2 separate regions of the Homo sapiens genome follow, and region 1 is linked to region 2. Evidence: promoter capture Hi-C in 16 types of primary human blood cells and fetal thymus (Javierre and others, 2016). All regions are on one chromosome and are shown on one strand. Each heading gives the region's core, a stretch centred on a gene start or on the middle of the fragment in contact. The rest is flanking DNA. Distances are from core to core; before and after follow the strand shown.

Region 1 (5,134 bases), core at 1,705-4,204, 2.0 Mb after region 2:
GGAGAAAAATTTTACCAAAAGGACAGTTTTCATGCCAGTATTCATGAGGAAGTTTGACCAGACAAAACAATGTAAGTGGCCTACAATATTCTGACACAACAACCCTAAACCTTAATCTCAAAATCACCAAATATTCCTAATTTACATTTTTCTTTTTTGTACTAACAGATAGCTTAAGATGGTAACTTCATTTTGTTACTAATAATTTATTGATTATATGGGAGAAATAAAATGTTTATCTTCACTAAGAAATCAGAAAATATACTTTGGTCATGGAGAAATATAGATATAGATAAAATGTTTATATTTTGTGAACATAATTCTTTTCAAAAATTGTCATATTTTACTTTCCTTTCACAACATCATAATTCCTCACGGAAAAAAAAATGTATATGGAATGAATAAACTACTTCACAGAATCTGTTGACAAATTTAGGTATATATTTGTGATATTAATTGAAAAAACATAGCAGTGCCTGCTGAAAGTGGTCACTATGTTTATTTTTTGTCAAAAATATTTGAGTTGCCTTAGAAAATTATAAAGTTCAAATACAAAAGATAAGAATTTTTTTCTTTTATTCCTAATATGGTTCAAGTTTATCCTTAAATAACAATAGAAAACTGAAAGCATTAATAGATGACAATAACCATATGTAATGGTGGAAAATCAGCAGGGAGAACTCTCATGCTCAATAATATATATGTCTGAATATCTATCTCTATATATTTTTAGAGACAGGGTCTCACTCTGTGACCCAGGCTAGTGTGTATTGACACAATCACACCTCACTATAAACTCGAAATCCAGGACCCAAAAGATCCTCTCACCTAAGCCTCCTAAAATCCTAAGATTACAAACATGAGCCACCATGTCCGGCCTAATGTATATTTTTGGGTTATATCTGAATTAGACCTATTTGGTTGTCATTGCAAGAGGGTTTCTTTTTTTACAAGATTATTTATCTGATGATGAATCAAAGTGTAATGTATGGTAATAAGTCATAGTGCTAGGACCTAAGTGATGCAGGATTTCTCTAGGGCCCTTTGCCGGAATCATGAAAGGAGCGCCCCAACTATTCAGCCCACTGTGCTCAACCCTTTGTGGGAGGGAGCACATGAGTGAGCAAGTGCAGAATCTGGCCAGCTGCTCCAGGCACTGACACAGGAGCACACTCCATGTGGGGCCTGTGGCCTGATCAGCCATGTGGTCTTGAGGAGAACATAGCAGTGCCCAGGTGAGGATGCCCACAACCCTGAAGCCCCAGAGCAGGTGTTACAGTGCTCCTTTAGTTCAAGCATCCACAGATGGCAGTGTATTATTAGCTGCTGAGTTGGCTCCTTGCCTCATCATGTGGGTTGGCTGCCCTCTGCTGGTGAGGGCAAAGGACTGGTGTGACAGCCTTTCTGGGTATCAGCACTTGGTGGGTTCTGAGCTCTTGCCCTGTGTCCAAGAAGAATGAGGTCACATGGATGATTAAAGGATGGTGAAGGTGGAGACTTTTATTGAGTGATGAAATGGCTCTCAGCAGAGAGGGGAGCTGGAGAGGGGACAGGAAGGGAAGGTCGTCTTTCCTAAAGTCAGGTTGTCTCTTCCCTGAAGTCAGGCCATCTCCTTCTCTACTAACTGAGTCTGGGATCTTTATAAGCACAGGATGGTGAGTGCATGGAGATTGGTTTGTGAGTATGCAGAAAAGGTTAAAGCAAAGACACTACTCAAAGATTGGCATGACAGTATAGAAAACCAATAAGAAAAGGGCAAGTATATTTAAAATAGGTGAAGGGTGGGGGTCAATCAGAAAAAAGCAATGCTAAACAGGAAGACAAGTTCTCAGTCCAGTCCAAGGATTTAACTTGTAGCTTGGTTTTCAGGCTTTAAAGTTTTTTGGTTTGGAGTTGGGGTTTCACCAAGTACCCGCACCTATCTGCCTGGGCATTTGGCTGCCTCCTGTCTCTATCATAAAGGCATATAAATATTAACACATACGTATTTGTTTTACGATTTAATTTTTAATTTTATGGGTATATTGTAGGTGTATATATTTATAAAGTACCTGATATGTTTTTATACAGGCACGCAATGCATAATAATCACATTATGGGAAATGGCATATACATTCCCTCAAGTATTTATCCTTTGTGCTACAAACAATCCAACTGTACTCTTTTAATTATTTTAAAAGGTACAATTAACACATTTTGATTATAGTCACCTTGTTGTGCTATCAAATACTAAGTCTCATTCATTCTTTCTAACTATTTTTTTTTGTACCTGTTAACCTTCCAAAACCCACCTTGCTCCAGTTAACCTTACCAGCATCTGGTAACCATCATTTTACTCTCTGTTTGTATGAGTTAAATTATTTTGATTTTTAGATTCCCCAAATAAGTGAGAACATGCAATATTTGTCTTTCTGTGTCTGGCTTATTTCACTTAACATAATGACTTCCAGTTCCACCCATGTTGTTGCAAACGACAGAATCTCATTTTTTATGGTTGAACAGTACTGTATTGTGTATATCTACCACACTTTCTTTCTTTATTCATCTGTTAGTGAACACTTAGGTTGCTTCCAAATTTTTGCAATTGTGAACAGTGCTGCAACAAACTTGGGAGTGCTAATATCTCTTCAAAATATTGATTTCCTTTCTTTTGAGTATATACCCAGGAGTGAAATTCCTGGATCATATCATTGCTTTATTTTTAGTTTTTTAACTAACTTCCAAACTGTTCTCCATAGTTGTTGTACTAATTTACACTCCCATCAGCACTGTACAAGCTTTCCTTTTTCTCCACATTCTCACCAGCATTTGTCATTGCCTGTCTTTTGTATAGAGTCCATTTTAACTGGGTGAGATGGTATCACATTGTAGTTTGATATACACTACTCTGATGATGAATGATGTTGAGCACATTTTCGTATGCCTGTTTCTCATTTGCACATCTTGTTTTGAGAAATGGCTATTCAAATATTTTACCATTTTTAAATTGGATTATGATATTTCTTTCCTATACAGCTTCTTGAGCTCCTCATATACTCTGGTTATTAATCCCTCATCAAATGGGTAGTTTGCAAATATTTCCTCCCATTCTGTGGGTTGTCTCTTCCCTTTATTGTTTCTTTTGCTGTGCAGAAGCTTTTTAACTTGATGTGATCCCATTTGTCAATTTTTACTTTGATTGCCTGTGCTTGTGTGGTATTACTCAGGAAATTTTTGCCAAGACTAAAATTTTTCCTGGAGAGTTTCTCCATTTTGTGTGTGTGTGTGTGTGTGTGTGTGTGTTGTAGTAGTTCCATAGTTTGAGGTCTTAGATTTAAGTCTTTAATCCATGCTGATTTGATTTTTCTATATGTACTTTCAGTCTTTTGCCTGTGGATATACAGTATTCTCAGCACCATTTATTGAAGAGACTGTCTTTTCACCAGTGTGTGTTCTTGGCACCTTTGTCAAAAATGAGTTCATTGTAGCGGTGTAACACATACCTGTTTCCCTTTGAATCCTCTCAGCAATGTGAGGATTGTAAAATAAACTCCCTCTTAATGTTTGGATAGCACTTACTTTGAGTCAACCCCCAACACACACACTTATTTACTTAAAACTCTTCTTCTCAGAATCATTCTTTCCAGAATTCCTTTTACTTAATATTTCCAAAAACTCAAGGGTTATTAATCTGTTCTGTTTAGTCACTGGCATGCCCATCACTCTGCCCATTTGCTTCAAGGGTACTGGTGCAGGTGTTCTTAGTTTCTAGCGATTCCTGAAATTCTGAAGAATACCACTTTCCCCAGTACTAAACTCACATGTGGATCCTTGATCTTTAGAGTGGAATTCTTCCAGGTTATATTTCTGTGGGCCTTTCAACCTATAATGACACAATTAGTCTGGCACAGAACACCTTGTGTAAAATCTGCACTTTGGCTGAAACTACACTTCCTTTTTAACAATAAAGACTGGCCTCTTATTGCATACCTTATCTCAATGTCTGTGTGGTTTTTTCTAGATGACAGATTGTTCAGGCCTACATCAGTCTATGAACATTTTCAGATTATTTGAACAGCAATGGTAAATGCATAACTTCCTTTTCTGTCAGATACTACTATGAACCATGCAATTAGATCAACAAGTGGTATAAAGTTAGTGGCAACAGAAATCGCTCACCTCTAACTGTACTCTGGTTCTCTTCATAATTTCCTCACATGGTAAATATCCCTAACTGCCTCCAATAGGTAAATGAATAAATAAACTCTTGTATACAGAAGAATGCTATTCTGCACTAAAAAAGAAATAGTTTTAGTACACCTAGTGTTTTGGATGTATCTCAAAGGAATTTTGCTGAGTAAAAGATGTCAGTCACAAAAGTTACATATCTTATTTTCCTATTATTCAACATTCTCAAAAAGCCAAAATTATAATGACAGAGATCAGAAAAGTGGTTGCAAGAGGACAGGGTTGAAGGGATAGCATAATAGAGTTATTAATGATGAATGAATTGTTCTGTGTCCTGATTGTGGCAGTTCTAATACCAAGGTATCTAAATGCTAAAATTCAGTAATAAATTCAACCAAAAAGAAACTTGAGTTTCATAATGTGAAAATATTTAGAAAAGAATAATGAAAGAGAACACAGTTGAGAGGAAACAAATAAACAAAAAAATCCCCCAGAAAGTTTAAAATAATAATAAAGTCATTAAAATTAATGACCTTACATTTATAGAAACAAGAGATGTGTCAGATTTATCATTAATCTGGGGATAATAAAGGCTGAATCTTATACAATTTTTTTGATTAGAAAGTGAAGAGAATTATTTGCATTCCTTTTAAAGCACTTGATAATACCTAGAAAAATTTCTTTGTGCCAATTTCTGATGGTAAATATTTTTATATGTGCTTCTGTAGATCATTCACTGATAACCACAGAAACACTGACAGTAAAAAGCAATTTTGGCCAAGCACAGTGGCTCACGCCTGTGATCCCAGCACTTTGGGAGGCTGAGGCGGGTGGATCATGAGGTCAGGCATTTGAGACCAGCCTGGCCAACATAGTGAAACTCTGTCTCTACTAAAAATACAAAAAATCAGCTGGGCATGGTGATGGGTGCCTGTAATCCCAGCTACTTGGGCGCCTGTAATCCCAG
Region 2 (5,094 bases), core at 1,176-3,675:
GTGGTTTTGATTTGCATTTTTCTTTTGATTAGTGATGCTGAGCATTTTTTCATGTTTGTTGGCAGCTTTCATGTCTTCTTTTGAGAAGTGTCAGCTAATGTCATGTGCCCATTTTTTAATGTGATAATTTGTTTTTTTGCTTGTTGAACTGTTTAAGTTCCTTATAGATTGACTATTAGATATTTTCAGATGACAATTTGAGAATATTTTCTTCCATTTGGTAGGTTGTCTCTTTACTCTGTTGATTGTTTCTTTTGCTGTGCTGAAGCTCCTTGGTTTAATTAGGTCCCACTTGTCAATTTTTCTTTTTGTTGCAATTGCTTTTGAGGGCTTAGTCATAATTTTTTTGGCCAAGGCTGATGTCCAGAATGGTATTTTCTAGGCTTTTTTTTTCTTGGATTCTTATAGTTTGAGGTCTTACATTTAAATCTGTAATCCATCTTGAGTTAATTTTTGCATAGAGTGAAAGGTAGGGGTCCAGTTTCATTCTTCTTCATATGGCTAGCCAGCTATCACAGGACAATTTACTGAATAGGGAGTCCTTTCTGCATCGCTTATTTTTGTTGACTTTATCAAAGATCAGATGGTCATAGTTGTGTGGCTTTATTTCTAGATACTCTATCCTGTTCCACTGGTCTATGTGTCTGTTTTTGTACCAGTACCTTGCTGTTTTGGTTATCGTAGCCTTACAGTATAGTTTGAAATCAGGTAATGTGATGCCTTTGGCTTTGTTCTTTTTGCTTAGGATTGCTTTGGCTATTAGGGCTCTTTTTCTGGACCCACATGAATTTTAGAGTAGTTTTTTCTAGTCATATGAAAAGTGACATTGATAGATTGAAAGGAATAGTGTTGCATCTATCAATTGCTTTGGGCAGTATGACCACTTTAACAATATTGATTCTTCTAATCCATGAGCATGGAATGTTTTTTCATTTATTTGTGTCATGTCTGACTTCTTTCAGCAGTGTTTTGTAGTTCTTCTTGTAGTTCTCCAGATCTCTTACTTCCTTCCTTAGATGTACTCTTAGGTATTTTTTTTCGTGGCCATTGTAAATGGAATTACAATCTTGATTTGACTCCCAGCTTGAATGTTATTGGTGTACAGAAATTCTACTCGTTTTTGTACATTGACCTTCTTTCCTGAAACTTTGCTGAAATTATTTATCAGTCCCAGGAGAATTTTGGCAGTCTTTAGGGTTTTCTAGGTATAGAATAATATTTTCTGCAAAGAGAGAGAGTTTGACTTCTTCTTTTCCTATTTGAATGCCATTTATTTCTTTCTCTTGTCTGATTGCTCTGGCTAGCACTTTCAGTACTATGTTGAATAGGAGTGGTGAGAGAGAGCATCATCGTCATGTTCCAGTTCTCAAGGGGGAATGGAGAGCTGTTGTGAGACCTGATTGGATTGATTAATGTACGGCATCTACTCAGAGTAGGGACTGTATAAACAGTAGACCTTTTTAATCTCTTTATTTCCATTCTATTTACTCTCTTACTATTTATCTTAATTATGGCTGCCTTCTCCTATCAGGAAATGTGGATTTATAACCCTGGCTATCTGTTAGCACCCCTTAGACTACTGGGAGTTGATTTGGAATGGAATACTCTGAACTATCAAAATTTCACCTCATTAGAAACCTTACATCATATCACTTTGGACATTGCCAAAGCTCTTTTTAGAATAACCACATTTTGCCCCATTAAAATAATACAAGAATAAACATGAATTTCTAGAAAAACTCCCCAAATTACAAAGCAAAGAGGTGGAGAGTTAAATGCCATGTGAAGAATCTAAGAATGTAGCATATATTCAAATTTATTATTTTTAATTGTCTCTCTCTTCACTTATTAAAATAGATTTTAAAAAATTGCTCTCACAACAGGACCATTATCCTTAGTAGATTTAAGGACTATTTCACCATATTTTTTCTTGAAATAATTGAGTTTGCTGGAATAAACTACTCAGTTCAATATTTTTCATCTCCCTCTAATACAAATGTATTTGATTTCTATAAATCTGAGTGAAATCAGTGAGGAAATTATACACATTTATCTTCCACAGGGTATATGAGCTATTGAGTCATGTTGTATTTATTGTAGATCATGTTTGCTATTTGGCCAGATAGTTTGAATAGTTGGGAACAATATATAATACTAAGAAAATAACCAGAAAGATGAATGGAAGTAAAGTGTTCTTTATAATAAATAAGTACATAAAATATTCTGTAGTGATTCAAGTACACATTTACATGTAAAATATATTGAAAATATATCATTCTATATTATGCATATCATTCATTCTTATGATTCATATACATATATATTTCTTTTATATGAGTATATGTTTATATGACTTAGTCTTTTCATTTGGACCTCACATAATATGTATATATTTTCCTATTATATCTTTCTTCCAGCTTCAAATATGTGGATGTTTTCTTGGCTTTGTGCTATTTTAATTATTTTGGCTATTGCTGGTATGAACACAATAGCAAAGACCACACCACATACCAAATTTACGAAGAAATCTGAGGAAAGAGAGATGCCAAAGGGTCTAAAGCCATCCAGTGGCCCACCTCCAGAAGAAGAAGAAACCCTCTTCACAGAAATGGCTGAAATGGCAGAACCAATTACCAAACCCTCGGCCTTGGATTCTGTCTTTGGCACTGCCACTCTCTCTCCCTTTGAAAACTTCACTCTTGACCCAGCTGATTTCTTTTTGAATTGTTGTGATTGTTGTTCACCTGTACCCGGGCAGAAAGGAGAACCTGGAGAGACTGGACAGCCAGGTATTAGAAAATATAAGAAGTCATGTTTCTCACTTGTACATTGGTAGAGTTGAGAGGTAGGTTGTCGGGTGAAATTGCCCCAGGAGTTTCTACGTTGTTATGCAAATAGTAACAGGTCTAGGTGTCACATTGTTACAAATGTAAATGGGTGCTGTGTTGCCCAATGTGGTAATTAATAAATATTAAAATTAAAATTGAATAAGGTAAAAAATTCAGTTCATCAGTCACATTAGCCACAGTTCAAGTGCTCAACAGCCACTGTATTGGGCAGCACAGATAGCATTTCCATCATTGTAGACAATTCTACTGGACAGTGCTGGTGAGAGCAAAGTCAGGAATTACCAACTCCAGCATGGTGCTCTGGTTCTTCAAGATGCACAGGTTTATTACCAGTACAATTTTTTAAATTAGTGGCTGATTTAAAAAGGGTAAATGAAACTTCTGTTGCCTTGCAAGAATGTGTGCTGACTGATGGATTTTCTGAGTGCTATTTGTAGTTAGGATTAGAAATGGAATGGCTCTGAGGTGGAGAATAAAGCTTAGGATTCCATTTGCTTCTCATTGAATTTCTGAGGCAATACTGTGTCATTGCCCAATGATTTTCTCCATTGAACACCATGGTTATGTATTTCAAGATTTCAGATGTCTATAATATATACATAATGAATATAGTCTTGGCTTTATTCTAATACATTTCAGCTTTTACATGTCATCTAGAAGAGAATTCAAGGTAAAGTTAAGATCAGAATGTCAACTTAAAATTCACCATTGCCTGAGGAATTTAATGTTATAAACTAAGCAATTATACATCTTCACCAAGCTTTTCATTCATTTCATCCCTTTGTAGGGACCTTTTGGGAAATGCGGTTAGTATTTATGCAGAGCTGCATTAAGGAGTAAAGGAGATGGGCCGTAGCTTGGGTACCAAGATGTCAGGATTGCTAAAACATTACTGAAAATTTAATGAGACTGAGAAAATTATATTTACCAGAAGTCTTAGTATCCTATCTGGCTGGTAAGCTGCTTGGCGGTGAAAATCCCAAGGGCATGGTCAAGTAGACACAGCTGGTTGCTAAACTATTTGCTAAGGCTGTGAGTTCTGTAACATCAGGGCTTTTGTTTTACCCAGTGGTGGATTTAGCTGTGCTGTTCTCAGGGTTCATTCTCTCCTCTAAATATATATGACAAATAATTCCAAGGTGTGCCAAGTTATTACCCTGCCTGGGGAGCTCATATGTCTTAGTCTGACTGGTTCTGCCACAGAGCATAGTGCTTGAGAGCTTAGAATGCTGAGACTATCTTGGTCCTACTTAGGGAAGCTACTCTGCTTTGGGAAATCTTAATCTATTCTTTGGGTCTTAGCTTAATACCATTTTCTCAAGGAAGCCTCTGATCTCATCAGTTAAGTCCTCAATAAGACCTTCGTATTTTTCTTTATATCATTTACTACAATGTGACAATTTCTACGTATTTGTGTGGCTATTTGTTAAATGTTTATCTTTCATAGACTCTCAGCTTCATGAGAGTAGGGACTGCTGGAATGTTGATGGCTGCATTCCTAACACCTTGCAGGGTGCTTGGTGTATAGGATGCCTCAGAAATAGTTAATGAATGAATGAGTAAGTGAATAAAAGGGAAATCCAAAGGTGCTAGGTGTTGTTTTTACTTCCAATGTGAAAGTGTGGTCCATATGAGGTTAAGTGTCAGATTATCATTTTGTTCTTGTTTGATATAGTGCTGCTTCCCTGAATCATTTGATCACTGCCATGAATACAGTGACAAGTACTAATGGTCTCAATTTATCTATTCAGGTAGTACGAAATTGCAAATCAGACAAAAATATTGCCCTTAGGACTCTGTGTGGTTTATTCTTACTCAGATTTTACCATTAGGTCATTGATACTTATTGATTGCAGTAAAATGCTTTTTTTCTTTCCTGAACTAATGAACTTTAAAAGAGAAATTTTATATTCTGATGTATTTAAAATCCCATTTCTAGGTCCTAAAGGAGAGGCTGGAAATTTGGGGATCCCAGGGCCACCAGGAGTTGTTGGGCCCCAAGGCCCTAGAGGCTACAAAGGAGAGAAAGGTAGGTAATTCATTCATGTCAAAACTCAAGGGACATTCTGCATCATTTTTCAGGAGAGCAATTTGCTACTTAAAGACTAGATTCTTGCAGATGAGTCAATTTTAAAAATGTAAATACTTGATAAAGCACATTATATTTGATATAAATATGTTAACTTTATAAACAGCCAATTGAGAAATTTTAAACTTACCTGGGAACACTGCACACATGCATGCA

The links. The method cuts DNA at HindIII sites, captures the fragments that hold promoters and counts their contacts. A CHiCAGO score of 5 or more calls a contact.
Region 1: a fragment that was not itself captured here is called in contact with the fragment with the promoter of OTOL1 in region 2 in 2 of 17 cell types (M0 macrophages and M2 macrophages); the score reaches 6.1 in M0 macrophages.

The regions. Positions count from the first base shown.
Region 1 is chr3:163,489,055-163,494,188 of GRCh38, forward strand. No RefSeq gene overlaps it. Among named protein-coding and RNA genes, the nearest start is that of LINC01192, 190 kb to the left of the region's middle. The HindIII fragment of the contact is 358 bases long and covers 2,776-3,133 here.
Region 2 is chr3:161,494,383-161,499,476 of GRCh38, forward strand. It overlaps OTOL1 (otolin 1), which reads left to right and starts at 2,426. Exons shown (of 4, transcript NM_001080440.1): 1 at 2,426-2,789; 2 at 4,789-4,878. The coding sequence starts at 2,426. The HindIII fragment of the contact is 10,143 bases long and covers 1-3,325 here.